2 separate regions of the Homo sapiens genome follow, and region 2 is linked to region 1. Evidence: promoter capture Hi-C in human tissues and cell types (Jung and others, 2019). All regions are on one chromosome and are shown on one strand. Each heading gives the region's core, a stretch centred on a gene start or on the middle of the fragment in contact. The rest is flanking DNA. Distances are from core to core; before and after follow the strand shown.

Region 1 (6,201 bases), core at 1,579-4,078:
AGGAGTGCAAAGAATGAAATAAGTGTGCAATAATGGTTAGCTATTATTAGCTGTGAACATGCTGGCCTGAACACATGCTGGTCTTGCAAACATCAACTTTTATTGACATGCATTTATACAACACATTATTAATGAGCATCATTTATGGACATTTTAAACATGGTCTACAAAGTCCAGCATGGTCTGGCAGTCACCAGCATCTCCAGCCACATCCCCTCTGTAGCCCAGATTATATCATGCCTTATCCTATATCTCTCTCCACCCCACCTCACCCCTTGGCTTTTTGTGTAGAAAGTCATGGCAGCCTTTCTACATGTCCATGGATACAGTGAGCTCCTTCCTAGAGCACACACACTGTACATCCTCTTTCCTCTACCTATACCCCAAGCTCCACTCTTTTGCTTTATAAAATGATCTTCAATTTTGTGCTTAATCATCCTTCCCTCAAACTGACAGCTAGGTCCCTGACACCACCACTCCAGCTCTTAAGTGGTAATTTTACATTTATACAGGATTCGTGTATCAATGCCTGTTCCATATACTATACTAAAAGTTCCACAAGGGCAAGGTCCTTGATTTGGGGTTTTATTCACTATTTTCTCTCAGGTCTACTACAGTGCTTGACTATGGTAGGTTCTCATTAGTTTTATAAATGAATAAACATAACCCAACAACAAGGCTATTGCTCCCAAGAATTGAGTATATCTTTCATTTTATTTCACAATCACTATTCTCCTCATCTCTGGCCTTACTCAATCTTACAGTGAAAAACATAGACACTGTACTAGGTAAAAGTAGCTTGGGGTAAAATAAAATGTGAATTTAATAGGTAGAGAAAGGGAGAAGGAGAAAAAGTCAAGTTACTTAAACATAGAAATGGGTTGGTGACCAGTGTTATGAATGTAAAAGTGTCTAAAGACATATGCAGAAAGGATTCTTCTAAGAGTATTGCTTTCTTTTGCGTAGTTGAGAATAATGTTATTTCAGTGGATGGATATGTTCATCACACTGTAATGCATGTAAAAACAACGTGTAAAGAAACATCAATAAAAGGACATCTCAAAGAGTGCTACTTGGAAAAAAAAAGAAAAAAGAAAAAGATATGGGGTAGTGAGTCAACATTAGCAAGGGGTAGTATAAACAGTGTTTAAACCCATGTCTTGAGCCAGGCAAAAGAGCAAGTGACAGAGAGAGGACCTCAATGAAGAAAGAGGAGACAAAAAATAATGGCCTGGGGAGAGCTTAGACCCGTGGGGCTGGCAGAGCCCAGACCAGAGGCGTGGGAGCCGCGCTGCTGGTGCTGGGGGTGCTCCAGCCGGCAGAACAGTGGGAAGGGAAAAGCAGTGGGCCCATTTAGAGGTTGAAAGAGGCAGGGACTGAGAAGCTCCAGGGTTTGAGGACCACTCCCCCATCCATACAACAGTTAGTATCCCAACTGCGGACCATATGTCCCACGCCCCAGAGCGATGGCCCTTGTGGTTTTTTTTTTGTTTGTTTGTTTGTTTGTTTGTTTTTGAGACAGAGTTTGGCTCTTGTTGCCCGCTGGAGTGCAATAGCGCAGTCTCGGTTCACCGCAACCTCTGCCTCAAGCGATTTTCCTGCTTCAGCCTCCCAAGTAGCTGGCATTACAGGCATGCGCCACTATAACCGGTTAATTGTGTATTTTTAGTATAGACGGGGTTTCTCCATGTTGGTCAGGCTGGTCTCGAACTCCCGATCTCAGATGATCTGCCCGCCTCGGCCTCCCAAAGTGCTGGGATTACAGGAGTGAGCCACCGCGCCCGGCCGCCCCTTGTCTCTTTAGGTCTCTTCTGCTTTATCAAACATGGACACAAAAAGGGTGCTCCTCAGGCGTACAGGCGCCGCCAACCAGCCACTGCTTCTGGTAAAGAGTCTTTCATCGCATTTAGTCATTTCTACAGTAAAACGTATTTTCCAAAGAGTACAGAACACCAGTCATGATGAGTTTTGTTTCTTTGTTTCTTAGAATCAGGGGTTTCATTCGTCCACAGAGAAAGATGATTTCCTATTTTTGTATTTTCAAGTTGTAACACATGTTTTTTCCCTTAGCTCTTATAACGTTAATATTTTTATATTTCATTATGGGTTTTTATTCTTCATTAAAAATGTCAGTCCAAGGGAGGCCTTTGTTTCGTCCATTTAAGGATTAGAAGATTGCCTGGCACAGAGTACACACCTGATGAAGGCGTGCTGAATACCTAAGTGAATAAAAACGCGGCATAAATAGCAGCTCAGGGCTCTAGGCGGTCGCGTGACTGAGAGCCTAGGCGCCAAGGGGAGGAGAGGGTAATCGCGAAGTCTCCCCAGGGGAGAAACCGAGGGGCTGAGAGAACCAGATCGACGAGGGCCAAGGCCCAGCAGGATGCCTGAAGAAGCCGATTCTCCTGCCCAGGGTACCTGAGGTTCGAAGGATGCTTCGTGCAGGCTCGCCTTGTGTCTCACCCGCCAGACCTAGGAAGCCAGACCTAGGCAGGCAGTGGACACAGGTGGCCAATGGCTGGGCCCGTCCAGCCCCCGTCCTGCCCTCGTCCCGAAGTTTCCTGGGATTGGCTGCCTGCCCCGCGGCCCTCCTCCCAGCCCCGCCCTCGCCCAGAGTCTTCCCTGCGCCGAAAGCGCAGGTATGTTCCTAGTCTTGAGCGGGAGAAAATCACCCAGCTCGGAGCACCTGGCCAGTGGGACCGGTGGGTTCCTGGTGCCTGAATCCGGCTGTCCGCTCTGCGGTGCCCCGCCCCGCCCCAACCCAGGATCTTCCCAGCCCCGCTCCGCCCCAACCCAGGATCTTCCCAGCCCTCGTGTGTCCCCGCTCACTTCAGTTCCCGCCGCGAGCCTTCTTCTTGGTCTTCTGGCCTGGCGGCGATCGTCGGCCAGTTTATCCCTCGGAGTTGCACTGTGAGTGCGTTTCTGCCCTTTGGTCTCCGGCGGGGAGGGCTCCCAGGCAGGGTCTGGGCTCGCCCCGTGTCCCCTCGAGCTTTGCCCGCCCCGAGCTCCTCTGCTGCCCGCGGCCAGAACGGAGGGGTAAAGCAGCCCTCGGCGGCCCAGGGGGCGGACGGCCGTGCCCGTCCCAGGGCCGCGCGAGGCACAGGCGCTGCGTCCTGCGGAGCCGCTGGGAGAATCCCGGGGCAGGTCCCGGCGCGGTAACAAGTTTGCGCTTTGCCTCCCTAGGGCAGACACGCCGCTACTTTGTAGCGGGTTTCGGGCGGGCCACGCGTGCGGCGACAGGAACCCAACCCCGGCCGACCTTGGGCTCCAGGAATTCGTTGTCTACGTCTGCGGAGGTGCGGCAGCCTCAGTTTTAAGCGCAGGTATGTTCCTACCCTTGAGCGGGAGGAAATTACCCAGCCCTGAGCACGTGGCCAGTGGGACCGGAGGGTTCCTGGTGTCTGAATCCTGCTCGCTTAACAGGAAGGCAATAGAGGCTGTGCTCTGAACCTTTCCCTCACGATGATCTTCTGCCTGTTGACCATCCTGGTGTCTTTCCCATGTGGCCCTGTATGGTTGGCATGGTTCCTGTCTTTAGGACTTGTGAGTATAACGCTTTATTTTTTCCTGAGCTTCTCCTATGTCTCCCCTTTGTGAGCACAGTGGCCAAAGAAGTCCATTTGGTCCCATGTCTAATCCATCGCATAACTGCTTGGCCCCCTTTGGTAGCCATGTCTGTTTTAGGTTGTGGGGCATTTGCCCGACAATGAACGTGAGTCAGAGATAAGAGGAGGGTCGCAAGCTGGGTGGAGGAGAGACAGGGAGTCCATTTTTGCCTGCCCATTTAGCAGCTTTCTCAGCCCTACAATTCCATAAAGATACTCTATCAGTTTCCTAAGTGTTGCGCAATGAACAATAATAATTTATGTAGGAAAATAAATAGACTGTAATAGGATAACAATTATATGCCCATTGGTGATGGGAGTATATGCTGAGGTCGAGAATCTATGGGGGGGTAGGGCGCAGTGGCTCACTCCGGTGATCCCATCACTTTGGGAGGCCGAGGTGGGCGGATTGCCTGAGGTCAGGAGTTCGAGACCTACCTGGCCAACATGGTGAAACCCCATCTCTACTAAAAATTCAAAAATTAGCCAGGCGTGGTGGTGCATGCCTGTAATTCCAGCTAGCCGGGAGGCTGAGGCAGGAGAATTGCTTGAACCTGGGATGTAGAGGTTGTGGTGAGCGGAGATCGCACCACTGCACTCCAGCCCGAGCAACAGAGTGAGATTCCATCTCAATTAATAATAATAATAAGAAGAATTCCGTCTCAAATCATCATCATCATCATCTATGGGGTTTCCAAACTGCCAAGGACATGGCAGAGTCCCAGGGTATACCTAGTCAGTGTAAGTAGTGTACGTTTTCTCTTTCACCAGTGTACAAGCTCACTATGTCATAGCTGGTTATTATCTTTCTGAGAATTTTGTTTATAAGAGTTGTCACAGGATAGAGTAAGTCTGTTTTTGTTTGTTTGTTTAAGACAGAGCCTCGCTCTGTTGCCCAGGCTGCCATCTCGGCTCACTGCAACCTCCACCTCCTGGGTTCAAGTGATCCCCCGAGTAGCTGGGAAGACATGCACAAGCCACCACGCTGGCTAATTTTTGTATTTTTTAGTAGAGATGGGATTTCACCATGTTGGCCAGGCTGGTCTCAAACTCCTGACGTCAGGTGATCTGCCCTACCTCGGCCTCCCAAAGTGCTGGGATTACAGGTGTGAGCCACCACACCCGGCCCAGAGTAAGTGTGGATGGCTCAAGGAGTATCTTAAGAGGTCTTCTTGTGGTTTAGAAGCCAACTCTGTGACTGTAAGGCAATCATGTGATGTGGAGTGGGGTTCTCCATCAGGGAGAGGTACAGGTTTAGAGCATTACAGAGTTGCAAGATGAGGAGGGGTTGGTCTGTCAAGTAGAAAGGCACTCTTTTATGGAACTGTAAGAGTTGACACAGAATGGGAAACAAAGGTAAATAAGAGAACCTATTGTAAGGTTAATGGCTTTGTCAATTAGGATGGCAGCTGAGGTCACTACATAGGCATAGGAGCATGCCTGATACCACGGGATCCAACTGACATGAAAAATATGCTATGAGGCCGGGCATGGTGGCTCACACCTATAATACTAGCACTTTGGGATGCCAAGATGAGAGGATCACTTGAGCTTAGAAGTTTGAGACCACCCTGGGCAACATGGCCAGACCTTGTCCCTATTAAAAATAATTTTTTTTAAAAAAGGAAGCCAGGTATGGTGGTGCATGCCTGTAGTCCCAGCTACAGGGGAGACTGAGGTGGGAGGATCTCTTGAGCCCAGGTGTTCGATGCTGCAGTGAGCCATGCTTGCACCACTGCATTCCAGCTTGGGCAACAGAGTGAGACCCTGTTTCTAAGGAAAAAAAAGAAAAAAAAATATGCTATGCAACTTACCTGAGAGGAAGAAAGTTGTCCTAGAATACCTACAGCTATCTCATTGTTTTCACAGCAATATACACGGAAAGGCTTGTCAAAACTGAGTAAATAAAAACAGGTGTGTGGGGTGGTTAATGCTAATTTCAATATCTCAGTGAAGGTTTCTGTGGTTATGCCTGGGAGAGCATGTAGAGGTTAGGCAAAGGCAGCACAACTGGGAATCCATTGGTAGCAACAGCCAGCTGCTAAGTGTGCACACCTGCCTTCGAGATCAGGAGGAACGCAAGTGACGCAAGGCCTTTGCGGGTGAGTTTGAGTAACTTGAGACATTCCATGGCCTAAGTAGGTAACAGTTCAAATGTCCGTACCCATTGAAATCTGGTTCTGGGAGGCATTATGACCAGAGTCAGCCAGTCTTCAGATGTTCTCAGGTGAAAGCAGTCTATACTATTCTGCTGGGCCATTACTGCTTACAGTGTCAAATACCAACACTTGGTTTTTATGCACTGTCAAAGCTAAGGTTAAGTTTGAATGCATCATATGTGATATGCAAAAATATCACAAATGTGCTTAAACTGTAAGGAATTTGTTCAGCTGTGACTCCAGACAGGAGTCTAGCTCCTCCAAAGAGGAGCTTTACATTCTCTTCTCTGGGTTTTATGGAGACTTACTTAACCCTTCTGCTTAATGCACTGTGTCAACCTTAAAAGGGGCACAAGAAAGGGTGATTTAAGATTTTTTTTTTTTACAGGGTTTGCTACTACTCCCTGCACTGCTCCCTGGTCCACAGCTCATGAATC
Region 2 (6,201 bases), core at 1,212-3,711, 140 kb before region 1:
TTGGACAGATACCTGCAGAGGAATATACAGCAGGGGTAAAGGATGCTTTGGAATGCAGAGCAAAAATGATGGGCTGTCAGTAAAGACTGATGTCAGGTCCTTGGATGGTGAGAGCTGAACATGCCTTGGAGGTCATCTAGTCCCATTCCACATTGTTCATATAAGAAAAACAAGACAGGGTGCAGTAGTGCTCCTGTAATTCCGGCTGCTGGGGAGGCTGAGGCAGGAGGATCGCTTGAGCCCAGGAGTTTGAAACTAGCTTGGGCAACATAGCAAGATGAAAGAAAGAAAGAGAGAGAGAGAGAGAAAGAAGGGAAAGAAAAGAAAGAAAGGGAGAGGAGAGGAGAGAAGAAAAAGCAAGATTCAGAGGGTTGAACTATTGGATTAGGTCCATTGGACTTAAGGGCATTTCCGACAAGAGGAAAATATCTCAGTGTTCACGTTTGTTGATTAAATGAGTACAAGTCCTGGAATTCCTCTTTGCAACACTATTTGAAACCATTGTTTATATTTTCTTTTTCTTAATCATACTCCATGCTATGAAATAGGGTTCAGTATTTGCATAACATTAGCTAAACATGATCCATAAGTTCAAGTGAGATAGATTTTGGTATGAACTGTAAAGCAAAAACACAAACTTGATTTTGGCAGTCTGCGTATTGCATCTGACAGTGTGCAGTGATGGAGAGGCTCTTTTGTATGCTAGTCATTGTTGCGGTTAAGGAAGATATAGAGACAAACCAGGTTCCCTACCTGCCAAAGCACAGCTATATCATGTAGCTTACAGTTTGTTAAGGAGATGGATAAGAAAATTGAGGATTGCAGAGAGGAGAGATAAGTGGTGTGGTGGATGGGATGTGAGGACACAGAGGAGTAGCTCAGTCAGGGAGTCAGAGAAAGCTTCCCAGGGGAGTTGGATTTTGCCAGACCAGCAGGAGTTAGGAACTCCAAAGTAATGAAATGCCATCATATATTGAGGTGAGTGAAGGCAATTCCAAATGGCTGGAGCTAAGGGTGACCTGCAGGGAGTAGAAGAATAGGAAGACAGAGATAAGCAGACACTAGATCCCAGAGGGCTGGAGTTTTGACATTTGACCAGAAACACTGAAGTGCCATTGGATGTTTGCTAGGAATATATAACCAGTTTACATTTTATGAAGTTCACCCTGGCAGCAGTGCACAAGACAGAAACAAGAGCAGACTGGCTTGGGGAGGGAAGGTGAGAAGATGAAAGTCTAAGGTCAAGTAGGGCCAAGGGGACAAGGGGGCAGGGATGAAGTCTGGTGGATTCCACCGGACGGGGATTGAGGGGATGCAGCCGTAAATGAGTGGAGGCTGTCTAGGGCCATTTGCTTAGTTTGGAGTGACTGAATGGACAGTGTTAACATTGTTTCTATTGGGAAGCAGAACTGGAAAAGAAGAAAACTTGCACTTCAGACTTGTTGAATTTAGGAGCCTGAGAGACAGCCTTATAGCTCAGCAGAGCTTGGGCCAGTGGTAGCAATCTGGGGACACTGGCATGTGTGAGGCATTGAACTATGGACAGGGCCAGGGCCACCAAGGGAGGATGTTTGGGAGAAGATCAGGGGCCAGAGGCCAGAGCAGTCAGGAACACAGCTTGTCATGGAGCAAGTTGAGCAAGAGGAGCCCTCCAAGGAGGGAGAGAAGCTAAGAGGGCTTAGAAAGTGGAGGGCAGGGGGGACATTTCAGGAAAAAGGAAGTCATCAACTGCAGCAGATGAGAGGTCAAGCTGAATAGCCGACAGGCTCTAGCAGCATGGAAACCTTTTGCAATGGGATTAAGTGTAAGTAAAAGTAAGTCCCACAAGGCTCTGGTGATTGGCTGATATTTCTAAAGAACTAAAAATACAGAGTTTTCAGAGATGAATGCTAATAAAAATGCTTTTCGTTTGAAGAATTTGTTGGGAAAAGGCGGTATGTGGAATGAAAGGTAGAACGGTTACTGCTCTGCAGTGAGATGGTCTTTGATTTCAACCTCAACCCTACAGCTTACTAGTTCAGCCGCTTTGGACAAATTATTTCACCTCGTTAAGCCTCTGTGTCTCTGTGTGAAATGGGGCTTCTGCCTGCTTCATAGATTCTAAGGCTTGCATAAAGTGATGCTTGTCACTTACCCTCCCCCACCTGATTTTCCTCCATAGCACTCACCACCTTCCTTACTTACCCACTGACTTACTGATTTTATTGACTGTCACTCTCCCTCCACTAAAACATAAGCTCTGTGACAGCAGGGGTTCTTTTCTCTTTGGTTCACTGATGAATCTCTGATGCTTAGAATGGTGTCTGGCCCCACAGTAGTTGGTCAATAAATATTTGTTGAATGGATGAATAAATGAATGAAACATGAGATGTGAAGTGTTCGGAGGGAGTGGCAGTGCTGTTACTAATTCTTGGTGGGAGAAAAGCCATTACCAAGGCCCAACTTCAGTGTCAACCTGGGTGCTTCCTAGGCTTAGTACCCCTTAAGGCCAAAGCTCCTATTGAACTGTCTTCCTTCTACAAGGCCCTGCCCATAGCTGGAGAATGACCTGCCCCTTGCCTGTTGTAGGGACAAATGAGTCACAAATAAAGAGAAACTGAGTGGAGGAGCACCATGTGGAGGAGGAATCAGGATCCCAAACTCTTAGAGGGCGCCTAGAAACTGGAAGCAGCAGCAGAAACCCTTCTTTTGACAACCCCAGTGATAGACGACAATCAACACATCAAAGAGCTCTCTCAGGGGCGCACACCTCAAAAGGGGTCTCAGCAACCTCTGCTGCAAAGGTTGGGATGGAATAGTGGAAGGAAACTGTCTTCTCTCACCAGAACTGATGTCTTAAAATCACAGCCAGCAAAGATTTAGAAAATGAAAGAAAGAACAGTGACTCGGACTTGCTTTATTAATCTGTGCATTTGCAATTGCAGTAGTTATGCTTCAGTCTTTCATCTTCAAAGTGCCTTATACCATGAACTAACATGCAAACATGCAAACAGGACTCAGTCATGTATGGCTGATTATAAGGAATGTGTTATTCTGATGGAAAAGGCTGAAAAGACTCCACTTCCCAACAGTCTGTTGACTTGAACGGCTCCACAAGAAAAGTCTGGTATCAAAACATGAATCTAAACAGAAACCAAAATAGCAAACACCAACATGCATTAATTGGACCCATTTATTTGTACCAAAACCAACATTCCCCCACTCCTTAGCCCCAGGGTATTGTTCTTTGTTGTTGCAGTTTGTTTCTTTTTTTCCCTTTTCATCTGTCAATACATCCTTCCAAGATTCTCCCAATGTACTTTGGATTCCAGACTCTCTTATAGAAAGCATATGTCTTTGGGAACATATTGCACCACGTTCAAGTTCTGGAGCCAATTTATTTCTGTCCCAGGATTAACTGAGAAACAACAATTGTTTGTAGGGCTGGAAGGAAGGTCTGGGTTACTTACTCAGCCAGAAGAACTATGCATAAAGCAAAGGGAGAGTTTCTAAGAAAAGAAGGGCCTTTCCTGTTAACCTGTGGATATGATTCATTCCTTCATATGACTATTTCATTCATGCAACATTTACTGAAAGCTTACCAGGTGCTAAGTACTAAGCACAAACAGGCCAAAACCCACTGGTGTGGTCCACACCATGTCCATAGGTTACAGGCTTTTCTTACTGATATGGAAAATCCCCAAGGTGTATGGTTGAGTAAGTATAAGGTAGAGTGTTAGAGTTCAAGATGATGATTGCCTGTGGGGAGGTAGTGACAGGAGTAGGTTATGAGAGGGTCTCTTCAGGGTGCTGGTTTTCTGTTTCTTGGTCTGGGTACTGGTTACACTGGTTTGTTTACTTTAAAATTAATGGAGCAGCACACTGGTGATATGCATACACTCAGTAAATTATCATATGTTTAACAGATATTCCAAAAAATAAACACCAGGTGTTCAGGTATGGCACAAGCCACTGTGAATGGTTCCAGCAAATAATGTGTGTGGAGGAGATGAAAATAGAGTCATAAACCAGAGCCAAGTTGTAAAAGCCTTATATGCTGAAATACAGAGTTCGAACTTTATCCTAAGAGCTATGAGACTCTATGCAGATAATCTGAGTGTGTGATGGAGCTGAGAGGTGTTTTAAGAGTGTGGCCTCTGGCGTTTTGCTCCTGGATCCATTACTGTGCATGAACCTCAATCTCTGCATTTGCAAAATACACTAATAATTGTGTTTGCTTTCTAAGGATATTTTGAGAATTAAATAAGATAATACACAAAAATAGTTAGTACAATGTTTGCTATTTTCAATAATAAATATTTGTATTTTAGAAAACATACTTGGCAGAAATGAGGAGAATGGATGGGGTATGGCCAAACTGCGGATGGGGAGACAAACTTGAAGGCTATAGCAGCGATCTAATGTGGAAGTAATCAAGGAGATGTTGATAACCTTAAGTAGGTAGAATGAATAGAACGTCATCTGGGAGATGAAAGAGACAGCAAAGTCTAAGATGTCTCTCATGTGCCTGGCTCAGGTGACTTTGAAGGTGGTGATGCTGTTAGAAATTCAAGAGAAGGAAGGGTTTTGGGGAAAAGATCATGGATCACATTTGAAACCTGTTGAGTTCAGAAATCCCAGGAGGTGTCGTCTGCAGGAGCTGGGTGGTGATGTCCACAGGAGCTCAATAGAGATGACTGAGCAAAAGACATAGGTTTGAGAGGTACATAAAAGATATTGAAGGCACATGAGAAGATGAGGTCCTTCAGGGATGTTGCATTGAGTGCAAAGGGCAAGGAACCAAGGATGGAGCTGTAAGTAACAACATTTAAATGGGCAGACCAAGAAAGGGAACCTATTAAGAAATCTGAGAAGAAATAATTAGAAGGGTAGAAGGAACTACCTAGAGAAAGTACTGTCATGGTACCTAAGAAGGGTGTCATCAGCTGTGACATGCCATAGAAATGTCAGGTTAGATGATGACAAAGGAGTGTCCATTGACTCCTACAATATGATAGCCATTGGTGACTCCGATGAGAGCAATTCCAGGGTACAGTAGGACAAAAGCAGCATTGCTATGGTGTCTGGTATGCAGATTGGAAGAAAGCAGTTGACAAATTGGTCGGGGGAAACAGAGGTGCAGAGCAGGATGCGGACTTGAGTCTTTTTCTAAAGATGAGAGTGTTTTGAAACTTTTTCCAGTATTCACCACCACCTATTTTGAGGTCATTAGATAGTCCCCCAGTCCTCTCTCTTCTCTCTGTCCTTCCTTTCCTCCTGCCTGCCTGCCTTTGCATTCTGAATTTCCTCTTCAGAAGCCAAGGAATAACTTACATAACTTGGAATACTTAATGCATCATCCTTTCAAGTGCTTTTAGAATAAGATGTTGATTGGGAGGCCGAGGCGGGTGGATCATGAGGTCAGGAGATCGAGACCATCCTGGCTAACAAGGTGAAACCCCGTCTCTACTAAAAATACAAAAAATTAGCCGGGCGCGGTGGCGGGCGCCTGTAGTCCCAGCTACTCGGGAGGCTGAGGCAGGAGAATGGCGTGAACCCGGGAAGCGGAGCTTGCAGTGAGCCGAGATCGCACCACTGCAGTCCGCAGTCCGGCCTGGGCGACAGAGCGAGACTCCGTCTCAAAAAAAAAAAAAAAAAAAAAAAAAGAATAAGATGTTGAGACGTGGGTATAATCAGGCAAGGGAGCCAGAGAGTTCAGCTGAGAAAGGAGTTGGGGGATGGTAAGAGAAAGGGCTTCCTCTTGACCTGCTCCTCCCCCAGGCACTCCTCGGGACTGCCTGTGACCCACAGATGCGTTGTGTTGGGCAAGAACACTTACTACCTTCATTCCCTCTCTCCTTGCTGGAGGTGAAGCCTGTTGCCCACCTTCTGGCTTTGGTGGCCACGCAGGCAGCTGGCAGACTTTTTCCTGCAAGGACTCCATGCATGCTCCATTCTGGCTGGGCCTCCCTGTCCCGCTCCACCCTTCTGGTGACTGATTTTCTCTGGAACTTGACTCACACTATTTCTCCTGCCCACTCCATCAAACCAACTGTGGCTTCCAGATTCAGCTCAAAACATACTGTCTTCAGGAATCCCTTCTTGTCCCCTCAGTGTCTCCATCACTGAGTCTAGTTATTGGTCGTTTTGCATTTCCTGAGTGGTTACTTTGAGTTATTCTCATTTTAGTATATAAGAATATTTTTGCCTCGTTGATGAAAT

Evidence for each region. The method cuts DNA at HindIII sites, captures the fragments that hold promoters and counts their contacts. A contact is called where the count stands out against the background at its distance.
Region 2: a fragment that was not itself captured here is called in contact with the fragment with the promoter of ERVMER34-1 in region 1 in 4 of the 25 tissues and cell types used here (H1 embryonic stem cells, mesenchymal stem cells, mesendoderm cells and 1 more).

What each region holds. Positions count from the first base shown.
Region 1 is chr4:52,748,052-52,754,252 of GRCh38, reverse strand. ERVMER34-1 (endogenous retrovirus group MER34 member 1, envelope) reads left to right here and starts at 2,828. Exons shown (of 3, transcript NM_001242690.2): 1 at 2,828-2,910; 2 at 3,184-3,323. LOC107986281 (a long non-coding RNA gene) reads right to left here and starts at 3,286. Exons shown (of 2, transcript XR_001741691.2): 1 at 2,830-3,286; 2 at 696-2,219. LOC124900185 (small nucleolar RNA SNORA26) reads right to left here and starts at 6,116; the gene lies at 5,994-6,116. The HindIII fragment of the contact is 17,697 bases long and covers 1-6,201 here.
Region 2 is chr4:52,887,341-52,893,541 of GRCh38, reverse strand. All of the region lies in intron 7 of SCFD2 (sec1 family domain containing 2), which reads left to right. Among named protein-coding and RNA genes, the nearest start is that of RASL11B, 28 kb to the right of the region's middle. The HindIII fragment of the contact is 5,036 bases long and covers 1-4,979 here.